2 separate regions of the Homo sapiens genome follow, and region 1 is linked to region 2. The links are contacts of gene promoters, found by promoter capture Hi-C in human tissues and cell types (Jung and others, 2019). All regions are on one chromosome and are shown on one strand. Each heading gives the region's core, a stretch centred on a gene start or on the middle of the fragment in contact. The rest is flanking DNA. Distances are from core to core; before and after follow the strand shown. Region 1 holds the start of ENTHD1 (ENTH domain containing 1). Region 2 holds the start of APOBEC3F (apolipoprotein B mRNA editing enzyme catalytic subunit 3F).

The links. The method cuts DNA at HindIII sites, captures the fragments that hold promoters and counts their contacts. A contact is called where the count stands out against the background at its distance.
Region 1: the fragment with the promoter of ENTHD1 here is called in contact with the fragment with the promoter of APOBEC3F in region 2 in 1 of the 25 tissues and cell types used here (dorsolateral prefrontal cortex).

What each region holds. Positions count from the first base shown.
Region 1 is chr22:39,892,150-39,895,656 of GRCh38, reverse strand. It overlaps ENTHD1 (ENTH domain containing 1), which reads left to right and starts at 1,897. Exons shown (of 7, transcript NM_152512.4): 1 at 1,897-1,962. It also overlaps a transcript of GRAP2 not described here. The HindIII fragment of the contact is 22,421 bases long and covers 1-3,507 here.
Region 2 is chr22:39,038,952-39,042,361 of GRCh38, reverse strand. It overlaps APOBEC3F (apolipoprotein B mRNA editing enzyme catalytic subunit 3F), which reads right to left and starts at 1,498. Exons shown (of 7, transcript NM_145298.6): 1 at 1,385-1,498. The coding sequence starts at 1,401. RefSeq lists enhancers at 1-576, 1,629-1,688. The HindIII fragment of the contact is 19,854 bases long and covers 1-3,410 here.

The DNA of each region.
Region 1 (3,507 bases), core at 648-3,147, 850 kb before region 2:
GCTTTCTCACCTGTACAATGGGATAATAACGCCTACTTCTCAGCATTCCTTTGAGATTTACATAAGCTATACATATAAAAAAACTTCATAAACTATACCTCAATGTATAAAATACTTGTAGTTTGTCCCCCACTATTTTATAAAGTCAAAATACCTCAACATAGCATTCAAGGCCCTGAACAATGTTTTCCAGGTCACCTTTTCGATTTCCCTCTGGCTCCCACCCCATTACTCTATATTATAGCCAGTCAAATAATATTCCAAACTCACCAACTTCTTTCATACCTCCTATCATTTTATATTGGATTCACCTATCTACATGTCAGTATCAATAATGTGGGCTATTATTATTATAATTATGACTGAAGTAGTAGGAGATAGAAACAAATGTTGCTTTTGTCTACTAAGTGTTTTGTTATCCTCTGTCTTTTCCCCTCATCCTAGTCAATATTCCATTAAAACACAGGTTCGATTACATTTTTCAATGCCTACTGGATAAAATCACCTTGTAGTATGGATAAGGTTCTTCATGATCCAACTTCCCTCTGTTATTTAACCTTCCTCTGCTGCTCCACTAATAGCCTTTGTGACAGTTGTAGTAACTACAGTACATGTAGTTTTTCCAAGATAATAGGCTGGCTCAGCTTTCATGCCTTTACACATGATGTGTCCTTTGCCTCTTACGTCCTCCTCTACTTTGTCTATCCAGTGAACTCCCTGTCATCCTTTAAGATTCAATTCAGATGTAAACTCTTCTGTGAAACCTGCCCTTAAATACTCAGTGGCAGAATTAGATGATCTCTTCTCTCTTACTATGCCATACATATCTTGTTACAATCTTCTCTGACGGTGCCTGTCACCTCCACTAGCCTGTAAACGTATCCAGCAGAGGGCTGCTTTTTATCTCCGAGTCCTTACTGTCTGGCACAAAGTGGGTGCTCACGGAAAATCAGTTGAATACATCAACAATTACCCGTCAGTGGCACCTGAAGCCATCAGTCACTGGAGCTACCCCATCATTGTCCATCACACACACTGCTCTTCATAGACTACTATTACATTCTCAGTCCTTTGAGGTGGCAATCACGTGCTGGTGGTATTTCTAGTCAGTTGAAATGACAGTAGTAACACACTTTTAAAAATGTATTCATGTGCCATGCTGGTGCGCTGCACCCACTAACTCGTCATCTAGCATTAGGTATATCTCCCAATGCTATCCCTCCCCCCTCCCCCCACCCCACAACAGTCCCCAGAGTGTGATGTTCCCCTTCCTGTGTCCATGTGTTCTCATTGTTCAATTCCCACCTATGAGTGAGAATATGCGGTGTTTGGTTTTTTGTTCTTGCGATAGTTTACTGAGAATGATGATTTCCAATTTCATCCATGTCCTTAAAACTTAAATAATAATAAATAAAAAAAAAGAGATATTATGCTAGAAGTCTGAGTATTTTACTGATTTTCCATTTTAAGAATAAATTATCATGGCAAATTTTAAGTTACATACATTATTTTATTGTCTACTTTTTAAAAACATTATCAGCTTACCTTGGCATTTTTTTTCTTTTTTTAATGTCCGTTTTTACGTTGTGAACATTTAGTAAATTAATTTATACTCATTTTTATTTAATTAAGAAAGCAGCTAAGAATAAATGCTAGTGTCTGATTAAACTATTTCCCAGATCTCAAAAAAAAAAAAAAATTTATTCTTTGAAAGGAGGATTAGGGCAGTGTCACAGCCCGGCAGCCTGTGAAACGAAGACACTTACCTTCATTCCCCTTGGTACCCTCCAGCTCAGGTATCTGCAACCATCTTGCTTGACGCCCTGACAGGAACTGCACCAGGCCAGAAAGTGAGGAAGCGGAAGTGGGGACCGGCCTGGGCCCTTGAGCCTGGCTGGAGTAGGTGGAATATCCTGGGGAGAGGAAGTTTGGTCGTTGGGCAGCGGCCGACTTTCCTCTCAGGTAACAGCCTCTGCTTGGGAGTGGTGGTGGGGCTCAAGGCGGGTCTGGAAACATCGGTTGCCTTCCCTCCTCCCGTTTCTTGCCGGCACCGTCGGAGTCCAGGTGGGGGCGGGAGGGCGGCGAGGCCATTACCATCCGCAGGAGGTGAAATCCCTGTGGCGTGACGTGACGCCATCACGTCCCTCTCTCCTTCTAGAGGCTTTCCTGAGGTCCAGCCTTCCCCTCCACTGCCGGTTCTCCTAGGGTAATTGCTGGTCTGATTCTCTGTGTGGCCGAACGCCCAGCACCTGGCTCATCTGGTACACAGTCGTCATCTGAAGTGGGGGTTGTATGAATGAAGACGAGGATGCCGAGGAAAGGCCCTGCCCACAGAAAGTTGATTCTTGCTCAGCCTCCACCCGCCATTTTCAAAATTCTTTCCAAAGCATCTCGTTTCTTCCTCCCCCACGGCCCTGTCTGGCGATTATTCTTTGTGTTGCGGATGAGGGAACTGAGACTTAGAGAAGTTGTTAAGTCTTAGTTAGGAAATGGCAAAGCAGGACCTCAAATCATGGCTTTGAATCCTAATTAAAGGAGAGAGATGAGGCATGTGAAGGCCCAGGTGTGAGCACATTGTGAGCGTTCAATGAAGAGTAGCTGTTTACTCCAGGGTGTGAGGACTGTGTCTTGTGCACCTGTTTCTCCATTTCCTAGAATGGAGCCTGCCACATGGTAAGCTCTGGAAGATTATTAGTTGAATAAATTAATGAACACACACTTAGGGCTGGAAAAGATTAGATTCTCTGCCTCTGACAGTATTCTTTTCATCAAAACAGTAACACCTCCTAATGGCATGGTAGTCTCTATAACCATTTTCCCGTAGCATTCTTGGCCAGAGCTCATTTCCTTACGAGTCAAACTCATGTCTATAGGCAGAACCTGTACAAACACAAGAGCTGTTCTTTTCTCATAGTTCCACCTTAAATGCATCTTTTCAGAGATAGCTCTGGACACTCAGCCTCTTAGATGCTATTGTCATTATTGTCCCAAGTCTTTGGATAAAGTCAGTTCAGCTCCTCTGTTCCTTATTCTCAATCCTGAAATCCAAAAACTTTTGGAAATCAACTTTTCCTCCAACTCATTTGGTGGTAAAACTTGGCCTGAGGCCATTTGTAGTCTTTATTCCAAATATTTACATGTTTTTATTGCAGACATGTTAATGTGTTTAATTGTTCAGAGCAGCTCCACACCTTACTGTGGGTATCATGTAATATATGGTATAGACATGGCACTACTCTTGAAAATTCCACCCCTACCACCGCACCCAAAAGAGAATTTCCACAAATCATCTGGCCTCAAAGGATTGGGATAAAAGATCGTGGACCAATAGTTTAATGCCAGCTGATAAATCATTTCCTGTTAGAATTCAGATGAAATGGGGGGAAGGAAACAGCATTGTGAAAGTGGGCAGATCTAAAAATAACACTAAAAGACCTTTTCTACGTAATCATTTGTTTTGCTGGGAATTATTTAGGAGAGAAAGCTCCTTAACTGAATGGTAAGTTT
Region 2 (3,410 bases), core at 249-2,748:
CCAGCCTGGGCTACAAGAGCGAAACTCCATCTCAAAAAAAAAAAAAAAAAAGAGAGAGAGAATAAAACTATTCACCCCAAAATAATAGATTTTAACCTTTCAGCCAGTTCCTTCTGACATTTCACCTCTGTATATTACTATTGTTAAATCATGGTAGAACCGAATTCTGAGGCCCAGGCCACTCTTCTAAGTGCTGCGCGGATGTGAGCTCATGTGAGGCTGCCCTAGGCCCGCACGGGCCATTCCCATCTTACAGAGGAGGTGCCAGAGGCGCAGAGAGATGGGGTAACCTGCCCAGGCCACAGAGCTGGGGACGGATGGGGCTGGGGCCTCTTACCAGACCAGCCCTGTCCAGTCTCTGTGTCACCAGCCTTGCAGGAGGGAGCCATTGGGGACCAGACTCTCTTCTTACTAAATTTTAAAATAATAGCATTTCTCCTGATCATTGAGTTTTTTTCCCATATATTCCATGTTTTTTGTTTTTGTTTTTTTTTCTTTTGAGACGAAATTTGGCTCTTGTTGCCCAGGCTGGAGTGCGATGGGGCGATCTCGGCTCACTGCAACCTCCGCCTCCTGGGTTCAAGCGATTCTCCTGTCTCAGCCTGTGGAGTAGCTGGATTATAGGCGCCCGCCACCACACCCGGCTAATTTTGTATTTTTAGTAGAGACAGGGTTTATCCATGTTGATCAGGATGGTCTCGAACTCCCGACCTCAGGCAATCCACCCACCTCAGCCTACCAAAGTGCTGGGATGACAGGTGTGAGCCACCGCACCCGGCCACTATATTCCATGTTACTCGTGTCATTTATAAACAGTGAATGCTGATAGTGGAGGAGGAGCGTGTGTTTGGGGTCATCTGCATCCTCCTCTGCCCACAGTGGAGACATCCTTGGAAGATACGATTTATCTTGTGCTTCAGAGACCATTCCCTCCCCACACCCTCTCCTAAGACTTGCTATTTAAGCAAAGTAAATGTTACAGAAAATCCATCAAAGCACTGTGAACAAAATTCCACATTGCTCTAATCATCCTTTGGTTCAATTCTCCCAGTTCCAGAGTTCAGGAATGGCGGAAAGAACACAGAGGGAGCACCCTCCCAGGGCCGGGAGCACCAGCCCTGCCATGACTTTCGGTGGCGGGGGAGAGTCTCAGCAGGGCACCTGGGCTGGGGCAGGTGGGGAAGCGGCCTATTCAGAAGCAGCAGTGGGGCAACCACAGAGCAGGAAAAAGAGCCTGGCTGGGAGTGGCGGGGGCAGGGGAGCCAGAGGGGAGGGAGCCCAGGGCTGGGGCTGGGGCAGGGGGAGGCCAGGGCTGACGCCCAGCAGAGCCACCAGGCAGGAAGGGGCAGCAGAGGGGCCCAGCGGGTAGAGCGGGCAGCGGTACCTGAAGTGAGGCTTCATCCTTGGCCGGCTAGTCCCGACTAAGATCTTTGTCTGGAGCACCAGGGTTTCACTTTCTGCTCCAGGCTCCAGGTTTCAGGACAGCCCTCCCTAAAGTGACCTCCCAGGGCCTCGTAGTCATGGCCCCTCCCCCTTCCTGCTCAGGCGCTGGTGTAGGAGGCCCTGGGACGCTTTATCTTCCTCAGTCTCTCACCCTCTTTCTGGTTTTCTCTGGGGCCCTCCCCCTGGCAGAGGGACCTCTGATAAAGACAGGCCGCTCTGTGCGGCAGGACCCAAGGCAATTGCAAAGGGAAAGAGAAAGTCATTGCAGCCAGCGCCCGCGAGGTGGGTCCACACCAGGCTGAGCCAGCAGAGCACAAGCCCCTCCCCTGGTGGTCCCGCCCAGCTGGAGCCTCCTCTCCACCATCAAGACAGACAGGCTGATGCCTCCGCAGGGACTCCCGGATCCTGCCCTCGGGGATCATCCCAGAGACGGCCCCCACCCAGCGGCCATGGGGACAGGGAGGGAGAGTAAAGGGCCAGGTGTCTGCCTCTCCCCAGGCCTTCACCCTCGGAGGCCACCGTGGGAGGGAGGGACAGCAGGTGGGTGTGGGCCTCAGATGTCCCACCGGGATGCCATGCGCGCCCCCACACTGAGCTCTTTCCTTCCTGCTTCTCCTTCTTCCCCATCTCCTGCCCGGAGTTCCTCCCTGGTGGGCTGAGCTCTCGCCTCCTCTTGTCCCCATGTCATGGAAGAGCAGTGGCTGGTGTCCCAGGCCAGCCTGTCTGGAGCCTCCCTGCGCGTCTCACAGCTCCCTTCCCCTGGTAGCGTGTTCCCATGGCGCGGTGACCTAAAAATTACACAAGGGATGCATTTGGTTTTTTTGTTTGCTTTTGTTTTTTTGTGTTTTTTTGTTTGTTTGTTTGTTTTGAGACGGAGACTTGCTCTGTTACCCAGGCTGGAGTACAGTGGCGTAATCTCAGCTCACCGCAACCTTTGCCTCCCAGGTTCAAAAGATTCTCCTGCCTCAGCCTCCCATGTAACTGCGATTACAGGCACCCACCCCTACGCCTAGGCTAATTTTTGTATTCTTAGTAGAGACAGTGTTTCTCCATGTTGGTCAGGCTTACAGCCGCCCACCACTATGCCTGGCTAATTTTTGTATTTTTAGTAGAGACAGGGTTTCTCCATGTTGGTCAGCTGATCTCGAACTCCCGATCTGAGGAGATCCGCCCGCCTTGGCGTACCAAAGTGCCGGGATTACAGGTGTGAGCCACCGCGCCTGGCCACAATGTATAAATTTGGAAAGGAGATTTTATTTCTTGTTAAGGGTGACAGGCAGCAAGGTAGCCATCCCGCAGCCTGGGAAGAGCAGCCTCTGGGAAACACCAGAGACAGACATTTAGAAGCAGGAGGGGTTGGGGCAGGAGCTTTATGCTGAAGGGGTTGGCTAAACATACATATTCAACAGGCTATAGGAGGAGCTATGAATATTCATGTGGGTGGCTGCACTCCATGCTTATTGAACAAACATGCGTGTAACATATGATCCCAGGCAGGCACAGTGGCTCACGCCTGTAATCCCAGCATTTTGGGAGGCCGAGGCAGGTGGATCATCTGAGGTCAGTGTCAGGCCTCTGAGCCGGAGCTAAGCCATTGTGACCCCTGTGAACTGCACATATACATCCAGATGGCCTGCAGCAGCCAAGAAGTCTGGAGCAGCCAAAAAAACACAAAAGAAGTGAAACAGCCAGTTTCTCCCTTAACTGATTAACCAACCTTAAGACATTCCACCATTAGGACTTGTTCCTGCCCTACCCTAACTGATCAATCGACCTTATGACATTCTTCTTCTGGACAATGGGTCTCATGGTCTCCCACCATGCACCTGGTGACCCCCTCCCCTGCTGACAACAGATGACCACCTTCGACTGTAACTTTCCACCACCTACCCAAGTCCTATAAAGCTGCCCCTCTCTTATCTCCCTTCGCTGACTCTCTTTTCAGACTCAGCCCACTTGCACCCAAG